Linked DNA regions of Homo sapiens: regions 2, 3 and 4 are each linked to region 1. The links are contacts of gene promoters, found by promoter capture Hi-C in blood cells and fetal thymus (Javierre and others, 2016). All regions are on one chromosome and are shown on one strand. The core of a region is centred on a gene start or on the middle of the fragment in contact, and the rest is flanking DNA. Distances in the headings are between cores, read along the strand shown. Region 1 holds the start of LCE3A (late cornified envelope 3A). Region 2 has its middle 13 kb from the start of SPRR2F. Region 3 overlaps SPRR1B (small proline rich protein 1B). Region 4 overlaps CCDST (cervical cancer associated DHX9 suppressive transcript).

Region 1 (3,369 bases), core at 405-2,904:
CTGATATAACTAAAACCAAATAGTAAATAATATTCCATTTTTATGAATTCATCATATACAAACTTCAAGCATTATCACAGGTATTCATTAAGTGAAATGCATACAACCCCATCAACCTCATCATTATCAACAAATTCAAAGAAATTTTAATGAATTACTAACATAATATATAGGATTAAATTCAGCCTTGCACATTTCACAGACAGCCAAAAACGGATGCCCCTTTTTTCCCATTAAGTGTGATTTCTGTTGATCCCACAGATGGAGGTCACATTTTTATACCATCTGCACCTCCCTCCACTCTACCCCTCTGCCCCCACAGTGCCCAATGCCACCTTTAAGATGCCATGATATTCCCTGAAGACACTACCTCTCAAGCCATGGCCCCAGCTCCATTCTTCCACCCCTTACTCAACCCAGGTCCAGTGAGCTCAGTGCAGCCAACATCTCAGGACACAGGGGCTGATTCCATCACCTATGTAAAGGAATCCACAAAGCAATGGGGACTGACACCCAAAGGCAGTGACCCCAGCCTGCCATGTTTGTGCACACTTGTGCTGCGTCGCTTAGCACATAGGATGTGATTTAATTGCTCAGTTGTCCATCTGGCCTTCTGAAAAGCTGTGAGCTAGTCAAGGGGAGAAATGTGTTCTGTTTGTCCCCATATTACCAGGCCCCACAAAGGACGTACCCTGGCTTCAGAGCATGTGAGCTGAATGAAGAAAAAAAAGTGGAACAGCAGCCAGAGGGCCTGAACGGTGGATAATTGGACCGTCATCGAGATTTCCTGCTTCCCTTTTGTCATTCCTCAAAATATGCGCCTTAAGAATATGCTGAAAGCCTGGTCCTTGGGAGTGTGTGGTGCTTCCCCTCCCTTTGGGGAGCAAAGGAGGACACATAGTTGGGCTGTGCATCATAATACCCAGGATAAAAGGGCTGAGGCCCTGGGTTCCTCAGTCCACAATCACCTCAGGAAGAACCTTCTCCTGCCTCCACCAAACCAGGTGAGCGTCCAGCTGGCGAGAGGACCTGGGCTGAAAGGGCTGCGCAAACACGTCTGTGCTTCAACAAGGAGAGGGGAGGAGGCAGACACGGTGGAGGCGGCAGAGAGGCTGTGGTGGGTGGCCGGCTGGGACTGGGATGGGAGATGGGCGGGATAGTGAGGAAGACAGACAAGTCTGCGAGCCACTTCAGGGGCTCCGCGATGCTGCGACCTCTGAACCCCCTTTTCCTCATGTGCGCAGAGATGCGTTGCCTCCTCACACCCTGCGCTCACAGGCGTCCAGAGAGACGCCACCCTGGAGGGTCATGGGCGTTGTGTTCACGGGACGCCTGCAGGGGGAGCTGTTCGCATCGGGTCCGGAGGTGTGACAGGCCCCGCAGGGCGTGCGCAGGAGCCCCAGAGGCCCACCCAGGAGTGTCAGCTGCCTCCCAGGCAGGGGAGAGGGCCGGAGGAAGGGGCAGTATCAGGCCGGTTTAACTTCAGATCCGTTTGCATTCCCCTTCCCCAGGTCTTAGCTGGAGGGCAGACTGAGTTTAGGGGAAGGGATCCACAATTAAACCAAAGCATGAGGAGGCCCTGGCCTGAAACCTGCATTGACACGTATTTTGCTTTGCTTTTATTTTGCCCAGGCTCCCTGACCTCCTGCCTAGATGTCCTGCCAGCAGAACCAGCAGCAGTGCCAGCCTCCGCCCAAGTGCCCTGCAAAGAGCCCAGCACAGTGTCTGCCTCCAGCTTCCTCCAGCTGTGCCCCAAGCTCTGGGGGCTGTGGGCCCAGCTCCGAGCGCAGCTGCTGCCTGAGTCACCACAGATGCCGCAGGTCTCACCGTTGCCGTTGCCAGAGCTCCAACTCCTGTGACAGGGGAAGTGGTCAGCAAGGCGGGAGCTCCAGCTGTGGCCACAGTTCTGCGGGCTGCTGCTGACCTGAGCCACGAGATTAAGTAAAAATATTTGAGAAAAGAAAGTGCCAAAATGACTGGAACCAGCCCTAGCCTGGTGCTTCTTTGCTCCTGTCTCCTCTTTCCTACTGAGATGTTCCTTGATGAGTTTCAAGTACTCCCCCAGGGGATTTATCCTGCTGGTCTTAGTGTTTTCCCTCCTTCTTTAATATCCCTGTGCTGTGAAGAATAAAGCTGTGCTTTCTCGTTGCAAGCTCTGTCCAGTGCGTTCCCGTCTTTGCCTTACAGGGGCTGCCCCACATTGGGTACATAGGCCTATCTTAGGAACAGACACAAGTGGGTCATACACCCCTCAACTCACAAAACCCTTTTAGGGGGGTTGTATATTAGTGTGGGAATGAGGTGAGCAGTCTTTCACAAGGTCAAGGACAGAAGCATGAGTTGGAAATAAACACAGAGCTCTGGAAAACAAAGGGAATGAGCTTACTGGGCCCGTTCAGATCCTTCCGAAAACACTTTGGTAGCTCAGCCCTAGATGGCAGAGAAGAAGAGAAGCTCCAGATGGGAGCAGGTCCTTGGTCCTCTGGTTCCTCCAACTCTGATACTCTGTAGTCTTCATGACCCAGGACCACAGCAGCCCCCAGAGCTGTGGCAGCAACTGGAGCCTCCAGAATGCTCTGTTGGGCATGTCAGTGGGATCTGTGGGCCCATGGTGACTCCGGTAGCAGCTTCCTGCAGAGCTGGAACCACAACAGAAATAGACTGGCAGCAAACAACCAAAAGGATACTTGAGGGTTAGGCACTTGGGAGGGGGCTGACAGTGCTGTTAGTTTTTCCTTTCAGGACATCTCAGCTCAGTGATCCCTGGAAGAAATGAAAAAGTAAATCATTGTTTTCTATCTATCTATCTATCTATCTATCTATCTATCTATCTATCTATCTATCTATCTCTATCTACCTATCTGTCTCCCCTTGTCCCTCACCGTCTTTCTCAGACCCTGACCCTATGACCCTAAGCTCACGTTTTTGCTAACCTAAGGGCAGCAGGGAAACAGGGCCTTGGGCAGGGATGAATTGGCTCAGAATGTTTGCTGATCAAGGTATTTTCTCCTCCTACTTTGATTTAGAATCAGAAAAAAAGGAGATGGGACATGGAGAGTGATGATAGTGATGGACTCTACTCCAAGTAACAGCTCTTCAAACTCTAGCCCCTCAGTAGGAAATTCAATAATTATTCAGTAGATGCCCAGATGTTTTCTGATAGAAGGGAACCAGGAAGTCCCTGTAACACCCAAATATCTGGCCTTGATTATCAAGACTGTTGAAAACTAATTGTCTATACTATTTTATTCATTAATTAATTCATTCAAACAACAGGAATTGAGGACACAGTTCAGATATATGTTGACACAAAGGACTCAGAAATGTGTGAAATATGATTCCCATCCTTGAGATGCCGACTGACAAGTC
Region 2 (3,369 bases), core at 502-3,001, 500 kb before region 1:
AAAGATTTTATTTAATCTAAACAAGAGACACCTACAAAAAGCCTATCACAAATATTATTCTTATTGGTCATCTAGTGAAAGCTTTATCCACATGGGTGTTCTCCCTGTGTCTACTCAAAATTGTGCTGAAGGTGCTCAACAATGCAGTTAAGGTAAGAGAAAAGAAATGCAAAGAATAGGGATTAGAAAGGTAAACAATAATAGCAACCAAAAACAACAAAATAAAAATAATTATTACTATTTGTAAAAGATAATCTGTAGATTAAAATGTAAAAGAATTACAAATAAACTATTATAATTAATATGAGGGTTTAAAAAAGTGCTGGATTCAAAATCAGGAACCAAAACAACTCTGTTCCTGCATGTTAGAGCAAACACTTAGAAAATAAAATTGTATAATATGAATCAATGTGTAAAAATATGTGAAGGACATAGAAATAAATCTAACAAAATTTGTGCAACATTTTCTTGTGTAGAAATAGAGTGACAACCATGTGTGTGAATTCATGACTCAAAATTGTGGAAGCATCAACTTTCTCCCACGTTGATGTCTGGATTTAAACCAAATCCTAATTAAAAACCCAACTAAATAAACTGATTTAAAAATATGTGTGAAAATGGGAAAAGGTCAAGATTGAGTCAAAATGTTTCCTTATAGTTAATATATTTTATTCTGTGCTTGATTTCTAGCTGACACAGGTCTACCCTTAGATCAGCTTCCCCTGGATGGTCAGGTGATTTGCCCATTCCAAAAGCATTTTCATACTATTCTAAATCAACTCCATTAAGTGTCTCGTTAAGTGTTGGAAACTATAAGAAAATAAAAAAGCTGAGAAATACAAGTTATAATAGGTGCCTGAGGGGAAATTAGTTGGAACCTATTGTTTTGGAATAGTTGCAACCGCAGTGTTAGGTGTTGGGAGAAAGCCCATGACAAAAGAAGGATTGATCAGGAGTTATTAGCTGAAAGCAGGAAGATCACATTCTCCAGAACGGAAGCAGAGAGCAGAGGTCCCTAGCAGCCATCTCAGGAAATACTTGTTATAACCTGTGCTGTTGTGGTCTGTCTCTCTCACTAGCCTGCAAGTATGTGAAAAGGCAGGGATATAGTCATGATCTTTGTTGTAGAGCACATGTGGCTTATCAATTTGTCAATGAAGGAATGCTTGGGATTTTGGTTTACATTTTATTTTTCTATACAAGAATGAAAAATAGTTAAATCTTGAAAAAAAAAGAACTCTAGTCTTCATTCTGAGGGCAGCAAAGTAGAAGAGTGCTGAAAAGCCAGAATCCCATTCTGTAATGAATCCTAATGAGAGATGCTCTCAAGGTTTAGGCAAGAAATGAGCATTTAAAGAAAAGGGATCATAGACTATAGAGAAGGCTCTGTGAGAGGAAGAAAATGTGTAGAGTCATTGAGACTGGAGCAGGGTCAGTGAAAACTCCTGTGTCATCCTCACCTACACCTCATCTCCATTGCTCAGAAAAAGATCCTGGGCAAGACTGGCCAAGGAGACCCTGCTTCTCAATGATTGACCTGGGGCCAGAACTAAGGTCTCTTGAGGACCTGCCTGATATTTTCTCTGTTCTATCTGCTGCTCTATTTTATGGAGAAAATAAAAATTACACAGATGACACTTAATCCCTTCAAATTGTGTGCTAACTGGGAACAATGTTAACAAATATGAACATCAATAACATTTTGAAGCAATGATAATTCATAGTGAACTTCTTAAATGAAAGGTAGTTAATAATAATGCAAAGTTAATCACAACCTAATGAAGAACATCTCACCATTATTAATAACCAAAATATATTTAACCAAAATAACCAAAATATATTCAAAAAATAGTTAATAAAAGTACATAAATATAATTGCTCATTGGCATACTAAATGATGAGGTTAATGGATAGAACTTTTTGAAGATAGCATGAGAAAAGATGGGAAGTAATAAGCCAAACTCTATTTGCCCTTTAATGTTTGGAGCAATCAAGATAAGTCAGCTTGTGGAAGACCTGTAAGACTTAATACTGTACCATACTTCAGCAGATACGAACAGAAAACCTCCATCTTACCAGCCAAAGACCAAGCCCCTTGCAGACCTAATTAGATGGAGAATTTCTTGAGATTCTGGAAGATTCTTGGTGGTATAAGACAGTGCAGTTTTTATCAAAGCTCCAAGGGTCCTGGTTATGACTGTAAGGCAGGGTGCTCTTATGTTTACTAATGTGAAGAAGGCTAAGGGAAGGCATTTCATCCCCAGCTAAAACCATTTGTGACCTTTAAAGAAGCCAAATCTATGTAGGTTACAAATGGGAGCAGTTTTATCAGCAGCCTGTCTACCTGACTGCTGATAAAACTGCTCCCATTTGTAACCTACATAGATTTGGTCTAAAATCTGCCATTCTGTATCTTTTAAGTGGAGCATTTAGGCCATTTACATTCTATGTTAGTATCGAGATGTGAGATACTATTCTATTCATCATGCTATTTGTTGCCTGAATACCTTTTTTTTCTTCATTGTGTTGTTTTATATGTCCTGTGAGATTTGTGCTTTAAGGAGATTAGATTCTATTTTGGTATATTTTGAGGATTTGTTTCAAGATTGAGAGCTCCTTTTAGCAGTTCTTGTAGTGCTGGCTTGGTAGTGGTGAATTTTCTCAGCATTTGTCTGCAAAAGACTTCACTTATGAAGATTAGTTTTGCTGGATACAAAATTCTTGGCTGATAATTATTTTGTTTAAGGAGGCTAAAGATAGAACCCCAATCCCTTCTAGCTTGTAGTGTTTCTACTGAGAAATCTGCTGTTAACCTGATAGGTTTTCCTTTGTAGGTTACCCGATGCTCTTGCCTCACAGCTCTTAAGATTCTTTCTTGTTTTGACTTTAGATAACCTGATGGCTATGTGTCTAGGTGATGATCTTTTGGCAATCAACTTCTCAGGTGTTCTTTGAGCTTCTTGTATTTGCATGTCTAGATCTCTAGTAAGGCCAGGGGGGTTTTCCTGGATTATTCCCTCAAATATGTTTTCCAAATTTTTAGATTCCTCTTTTTCCTTGGGAGCACAAATTATTCTTAGGTTTGGTAATTTAACATAATCCCAAACTTCTTGAAGGCTGTGCTCATTTTTTAAAATTCTTTTTTCTTTCTGTTTGTTGGATTGGGTTAATTCAAAAGCCCTGTCTTTGAGCTCTGAAGTTCTTGCTTCTACTTGTTCAATTCTATTGCTGGGAATTTCCATTGTATTTTACATTTCTCTTAATGTGTCCTTCATTTCCAGAAGTTGTGATTGTTTTTTAATTATGCTATATGTTTCTCTGGAGATTTTTTAATCCATATCCTGTAACGCTTTACAAATTTCTTTAAGT
Region 3 (3,369 bases), core at 522-3,021, 410 kb before region 1:
CCTCTGGAAACTTATGATTATGGCAGAAGGCAAAAAGGAAGCAGGCACATCTTCACATGGCAGAGCAGGAGAGAGAGCAAAGGTGGAAGTGCTACACACTTTTAAACAACCAGATCTTGTGAGAACTCACTCACTATCATGAGAACAGCAAGGGCAAAGTCTGCTGCCATAATTCAATCTCCTCCCACCAGGCCCCTCCTCCAACATTGAGGATTATCATTCCACAGGAGATTTGGATGGGGACACGGAACCAAACCATATCGACTCCTGAATCTAAAATAAAAGTTGAAATTATAGAAAAGAAAAAAATAAAAAACTTAAAAAAGAAAAGTGAGCTGCAAAGCTTACCTAACCAAGAAGGGCGCAATCCACAATGCACACTTGAGGTTTGATTATAGAGAATAGTACTAAGAAAAGGACAATTCTACGGGTGGCAGAACAACGAATAGGAAAGTTAAAAGGAGTTCCTTTCAGAGAACAGAATCAATACCTTAAAAGGAACTTCTACCACTTCTGGTATATTGGAGTGGGAAGAGTGTGGCTTCACAATGCCTGCCCAGTTGGATTTCAGAGTACTAAGGCCTAGTGGCTGCCATGTGTCACCATTATCTTCCTTTGAACATGGTAGTTTTGATTTAGCTCTCCTGTACCTGCATTGCCATTGGATGCTGGGTAACAGGAAGAAATGGCCCATTTGTTTGTTTCATAATTTGCTGAACAAAAGGAGCCATAGGAAAATGTAATGGAGAGAATTTCATGTCATCTAGAGATCCTAGATTTTGAGCTGATGGGGACCATAAGGCTTTTTTTCCTTACGGGATTGTGTTCTGCTTATGAGACAAAGGAGCAGATGGATATTTGAGAACAAGAAGGCTATTCTGTGGCTGAAGCTTGAGGAGCTCACCCAAATCTCTGTCTTCCTCTTATTTCTAAGCACAGCAGTAAACGACATTTCTTAACTTTGTGAGGTTGACAGGGCTATGTGACCAAGTTCTAGCCAAGTCCATAAGAACTGAGGGGATACATGCCATTTCTTGTTCCAAGTGGATAAGTGCAGGGACACCTTCTCTATATTCAGTCTATTTCCCTGTTCTTGTGCTTGGATTCATAAAGCACAGCACTCAGAGATAGTGAGACCATAGGAAGGAAGGACTGTGTGTCTTCATGACTATGTGGAACAAAGACTTTACAAACCCATATTGGACTTTTATATGAGTGGAAAGTAACTTTTACTTGATGGAGCCCCAACAATATAGGGGGTGTTGTTATAGCAGCTGACCTATGCTGACTAATAATCGCATGATTACAACACTTTTTTTTCTGCTTGGTTAATTGGTTAGGTGCTAGAGGCACTTATATTTGGATATGATGGTAGATTTTACCTACTAATTAAACAAAAAAACCCTTAGGGCAATACAACATTTAGGGCAAATATTTTTCATATAGGCTTTGTAATTTTAAATAATGCAATCAAGTAAAAATGCCGTGATCAAAAATATCACAATTTCTTGAGTTATACCAATGGCATGTAATTTTTTTATTATTTCATTTTGCATCCTAAGAAAAAGAATCTCTTTTATGCTACTGCAGAACAACTTGCTTTGTCTCCCAGTTACATACAAGAGCAACCTATTTTTCCATCAATATAAAAATATATGCATATATATATGAATACACTGTTGATAACTCTATCTTGTTTAATTTGACTTGAAACATGTTGATACTACAGGGAGAGGGGTGAGGGTGGGTTTTACAGTTCTCACTTCCATGGTTCCCACCTATGTGAAAGAAACAGTCTCCAAACTGGATCAGCTTTTGTGCATTACTCTGTGAGGACTCCAGATCTTGTGTGTGTGGTTGTATATGTGTGTATGTGTGTTTGAATGAGGGGTGGGGTAGGGAGTGAAGTATATCCCTCCAGGGCACTGTAAATGCCCCTGGCAAGCACCTTAAATCCCCTTTGTTCTGTTTCAGGTCCAGAGTTGGCACTCAGAAACTAGAAATGACTAACTGAGATAAAGAACGGAGTCTGTGCATCTTTGGAGGTGTTTGGAAATCTAGGTTGTAGATATCAGAGAAATGAGTGAGAAGGAGCAGGTTAGCATATGTAGGAACAACATTACTTGAAATAAACAGGAATTGGCTGGTAAGTTAGCAGTCTAAAAGCCAGATTTGGAGAGAAGGCAATCAGGATTAGTGAGTCAGAGTCAGCTTAGACAAGTGCTAACTAAACTCTAGCATGACTCACTGAGTTGCAAGAGGAGAGCCCTTTTCCAGCCCTGGATGCCCAAAGCAACAGCCTCTAGGTGGCATTACACAACCTCCCATAGGCAGCCCAGGAATGCTTGTGGGGGCAGCCCTTCACCCTCCTAATGTGAGCATCAGATGCCTTCTGGACAAAGCCCTTCTTCACCAACTCATCTCTGTGTACAGCTCCCGCTTCACGAGGGAAAGGAATGAAGTTGTAGAGTCAATGACACACAGTCAAGAGTGGAATTGAAAGTGAATTTAATGGGGGTATAAGGGAGCTGAATCATTTGCTTTCATCTTAAGTCTCTCTTCAGATGAATTCTGAGCAGCTGAAAACTAGCTCTGGTACTAAGACCTTCAGCTTCATTCAGAGACTCAGAGTGTGTAGGAAAGAAAGCTTCATAGCACATTCTTTTTTGGGGGAGACAGAATGCTAATTGCAAGGCAAATGGGACTCATACGCAGAATGGGATAGGGGATTCAGCATCTGGTGGCCGGCTCCTCAAGGGCATGGCTGTGGACCACATTACTTCTGCTTGGTCTTCTGCTGGGCTGGTGCTGGAGTGACTATTGAAGGGCAGGGCTCAGGCACCTTGGGGTGGCATGGCTCTGGAACCTTGGGCTGGCAGGGCTCGGGCACTTTGGGGTGGCAGGGCTCAGGCACCTTGGGGTGGCAGGGCTCCTTGGTTTTGGGGATGCATGGTTCCTGAGGTGGAGGCTGGCAAGGCTGTTTCACCTGCTGCTGCTGAAGCTGAGGGGGTGGGGTGCAAGGCTGCTTCTGCTGCTGGGAACTCATGCTGCAACAGTGACTGGTCCTGGACACAGAACAGATGATTTAAGCAGAGAATAATAGGGAAGAAGCCATGGTGAATACCACTTCTGGTCTCTTAAAAAGCTATGTTCTTTCCCCTTCTTGACCACAAAGAATACTTAATTTAATTTCTGAGCCTTTGAAGAAGAGGAACCTAAAGATGATTTGCTCTTGCTCCACTGGAGCAGGGCCTCTCCTGGTGCTCTCTTTCTTCCTACACAGCACAATAACAGGCTTCTAGCAGGAATATGAGACTCATAATACTGGACCATTGGAAATGTGAGGTTCTTTGGAAAAAAAAAACCCTA
Region 4 (3,369 bases), core at 430-2,929, 390 kb after region 1:
CATAAAAAGAAGCAAGCAAAAACAACTGGAATTAACATTTTTGCTAATCAAATAGTAACTCCATATTTATATTATATAACTTAGGTTAGTAAATTATAATTATAAAGCCTATTATTATCATTAATTATGATAGTTTTATAAGACATGTATAATTACACAATTCCACATACACAATACTGTTGATTCAGACTAACATTCTGCATGTGTTAAATATTCTTGCCCAGTGTAATTGTCACTTTAAGAGTTGAGTCTTTTAAGAGTTAAGAGTCCTAATTTAAAGTCAGAAACCTGAGTTCAAATTCTACTTCTGCCACTTAGTATTGATGTGATTTTGCAAGTTAATTAACATCGTCAAACCTCAATTTCACTGTCTGTAAGACAGAAATACTAATATTTCACCTAAGGATTTGAACAGTTAATGTCTAAATATCTATAAATCACATTGACATGTACACAGAAGATACTAATTTAAAAAAAAAGCTCTGTGGCAAGTAACAATGAAAGCAAGCAAAAACAAGTTTTTACTATTTTTTATAACAATGCTACACTCTAAAAATATATCGACAAGCAATGTGACCATTACCTTAATAAGTGAGACACCAACAGGAGAGGAACTAACTCAAAAACCAAGACGAGAAGAAAAACATAAAAAACAGGAATTTATTGTGACAAGTTCTTTCTGAGGACAAAGTTATCTGGCTCTAACCTTTTCTTTAAAAATGTAATCCTACCTTAATTCTTCTACTTAATATTGATCTTCTTTTAAAGGACAGTGCATACTTGCCCTCCTCAGTTAGCATATGTAAGTGGTGTAAGTTTAAATTTTAATATTAAAGAAAAATTTTGTTGTTGGGTTTCAACTAGAGCATTAAATATGAAAGTTCAAGTTTTGAAGTTTCTGCCAAATTTTATATTTTACATAACTTGTACAGAAATGTATTAAGTCTTATAGTATCATCAGATCACTGTGACTGACTGCAATATGCTTGAGTTTATAGACAGAGCTTCTAACGCTCTAGTTTTGACATTCCAATTGCATAAATATTGCCAACAAAAATTTATGAATTAACAATGTGTCTTGTCTCTATTCTGCTCCATTACCCTACTTTATAAATGGTAAGACTGGAAACTGATCCAAACAGGCAAAGAGCTAAGGATGGAGCTTTGGAGAGTAAAAACATTTAAGCACAGACCATGGAAGAAAAGCCCTTCAAAAAGCCTGAAAGAAGCTGTGAAAATCAACCTATAAAGTGTTGAAGAGTAAGTGAAAGTTACGGGAGTCAGAGACAAGGAGTGCTGACTGCTCTTTTAAGGAGTTCAGTTATTAAGAGATGGAAATGGATGATAGAAATAAATTAGATGATAATTCATCATTATTTCCCCTCATCTCATACCTTCTCTTTCTCATTTATTGCTTTGCTTTTTATTTATTTATTTACTTTGAGATGGGGTCTTGCTCTATTGCCCAGGCCGGAGTGCAGTGGCAAAATCTCAGCTCACTGCAGCCTCCACCTCCCAGGTTCAAGCAATTCTCCCACCTCAGCCGCCTGAGTAGCTGGGATTACAGGAGCATGCCACCACGCCCTGCTAACCTGGCCAACATGGTGAAACCCCATCTCTACTAAAAATGCAAAAAATGTATTGCTGTTCTTCGTGAATGTTACCACCATACATACTGCCATCCAAGTCAGAAGCCTTGATTACTTCCGTTCCTTCATCTGTCTTCTGACTCATCTTCCTTATTCTATCTTACCTCTCAGTCTAGTATCAACATAGCAGTGAGTCAGATCATGCCACTCCTCTGCTCAAAACCTTACCTAGTAAATAAGCCAACCATATGGTATGTTAGAAGTATATATCAAATAGAAGGGTCAGGGTAGGCTTTATTGAGAAGGTGGTATTTGAGCAGAGACTTGAAGGAGATAAGTGATATAGCCAAATGGACATTTAGGGGAAGAGCATTTCTGGCAAAAATTCTTTTAAAAAGAAGGATGCCTGGAGGTTTTGGAGAATAGCAAGGAAGCTAATATGGCTTCAGCAGGGTACCACAAGGGAGAGAGTGGTGAAAGATGAGGCCAGAAAGGAAACAGAGGTCTGATCAGTTTGCTACTCATTACATTCATACTACAATGCCTCACTCTCCCTTCTCTATCTGCTATCCCACCACTATCCCCTGCCACACACACATGCACGCACGCACGCACGCATGCACATCGAAAGGCAAATGTTCTGGATTTGATTTCCAACAATCAAGGTCCTTATATCTCAGCTTTTTTTTTTTTTTTTTTGGTACCATTTCTAACACTTGAAGTGTTTGTGAGAATCGCTTCCAGTCACTCTTCTCCATTTGTCCACTTTAATGGACCAGGTCTGCATGCTGAATGTTTCAGGTAGTAGGAACTAAGGGATAGAGACTATGAATACCAAGCCAGTAAGAGCATCAAACATCAAGATAAGAACACACAGCCTAAGTAACACAGTGAGACCTCATCTCTACAAAAAAATATAAAAATTAGACAGATGCAGTGGCATACACCTATAATCTCAGCTACTCGGGAAGCTAAAGTGGGAGGATCACTTGGGCCCTGGAGTTGGAAGCTGCAGTGAGCCATGGTTGCACCACTGCACTTTAGCCTGGGCAACAGTGAGACCCAAAAAAAAAAACTATATATATATTTTTTTCTCATATATATATATATATATATATATATATATATATATATATTAGAGAAAGATACTGATGGAATAAATAAAAGGATACATGTATGAATGAGCTCTGGATTCCCAGCATTTGAAGCATTTTGGAGTTCTCGGAAGAGAAAATGGAGGATATTAAGGGAGAAAGAAACAACTCAATAGGCAGACCAGTACTGAAGCAGAATATATTCCAGGGTGTGGGTCTGAAGCTGAAAGATATGTCACCATGCCTGTCTCATCCCCAGGGAATATATACTAAGCTGTAAAATTATATCGAATCCATTTTTTATTTTTTGAGATAACAGTAAAAAGGACTCAAAAGAGGATATAGAAGGAAGCACTATTTAACCAGTTTCATATTATAGCTAACTTCTTTTGATTCCATTTACCCAAAATCATGACCATCAACCTTCTCTTATATACATACCCCTATTTTTTACATAGTCTCCTCATTTATAGAGACTAGGCTACAAAGAACTATAGAAATTCCATGAAATAATTTCTGTAAGGAAAAAGGGCAGAAAAGGCAATGAAGAAAAGATCTGCTTTAGAATTTCCCTATGACCCAGCAGATGGTGCAATAGGCACATTACTCTGCCTTCCAGACAGGCAGAAAAAAATGAGTGCACACAGATGGTACTGGAACTTCACTGTTTATCCTTGCTAGTTTTG

What was found. Contacts are between HindIII fragments. The CHiCAGO score rates a contact against its expected background, and 5 or more counts as called.
Region 2: a fragment that was not itself captured here is called in contact with the fragment with the promoter of LCE3A in region 1 in 3 of 17 cell types (M2 macrophages, M0 macrophages and M1 macrophages); the score reaches 7.8 in M2 macrophages.
Region 3: a contact is called between a fragment that was not itself captured here and the fragment with the promoter of LCE3A in region 1, in 1 of 17 cell types (M0 macrophages). The highest score is 5.2, in M0 macrophages.
Region 4: a fragment that was not itself captured here is called in contact with the fragment with the promoter of LCE3A in region 1 in 1 of 17 cell types (M2 macrophages); the score reaches 5.9 in M2 macrophages.

What each region holds. Positions count from the first base shown.
Region 1 is chr1:152,621,388-152,624,756 of GRCh38, reverse strand. LCE3A (late cornified envelope 3A) reads left to right here and starts at 1,654. Exons shown (of 1, transcript NM_178431.1): 1 at 1,654-1,923. The coding sequence starts at 1,654. The coding sequence ends at 1,923. The HindIII fragment of the contact is 6,916 bases long and covers 1-3,369 here.
Region 2 is chr1:153,125,171-153,128,539 of GRCh38, reverse strand. No RefSeq gene overlaps it. Among named protein-coding and RNA genes, the nearest start is that of SPRR2F, 13 kb to the right of the region's middle. The HindIII fragment of the contact is 3,336 bases long and covers 84-3,369 here.
Region 3 is chr1:153,032,023-153,035,391 of GRCh38, reverse strand. SPRR1B (small proline rich protein 1B) reads right to left here. Exons shown (of 2, transcript NM_003125.3): 2 at 2,492-3,065. The coding sequence starts at 3,046. The coding sequence ends at 2,777. Among named protein-coding and RNA genes, the nearest start is that of SPRR1B, 2.5 kb to the right of the region's middle. The HindIII fragment of the contact is 1,757 bases long and covers 893-2,649 here.
Region 4 is chr1:152,227,422-152,230,790 of GRCh38, reverse strand. All of the region lies in intron 1 of CCDST (cervical cancer associated DHX9 suppressive transcript), which reads right to left. Among named protein-coding and RNA genes, the nearest start is that of HRNR, 4.9 kb to the right of the region's middle. The HindIII fragment of the contact is 4,144 bases long and covers 1-3,369 here.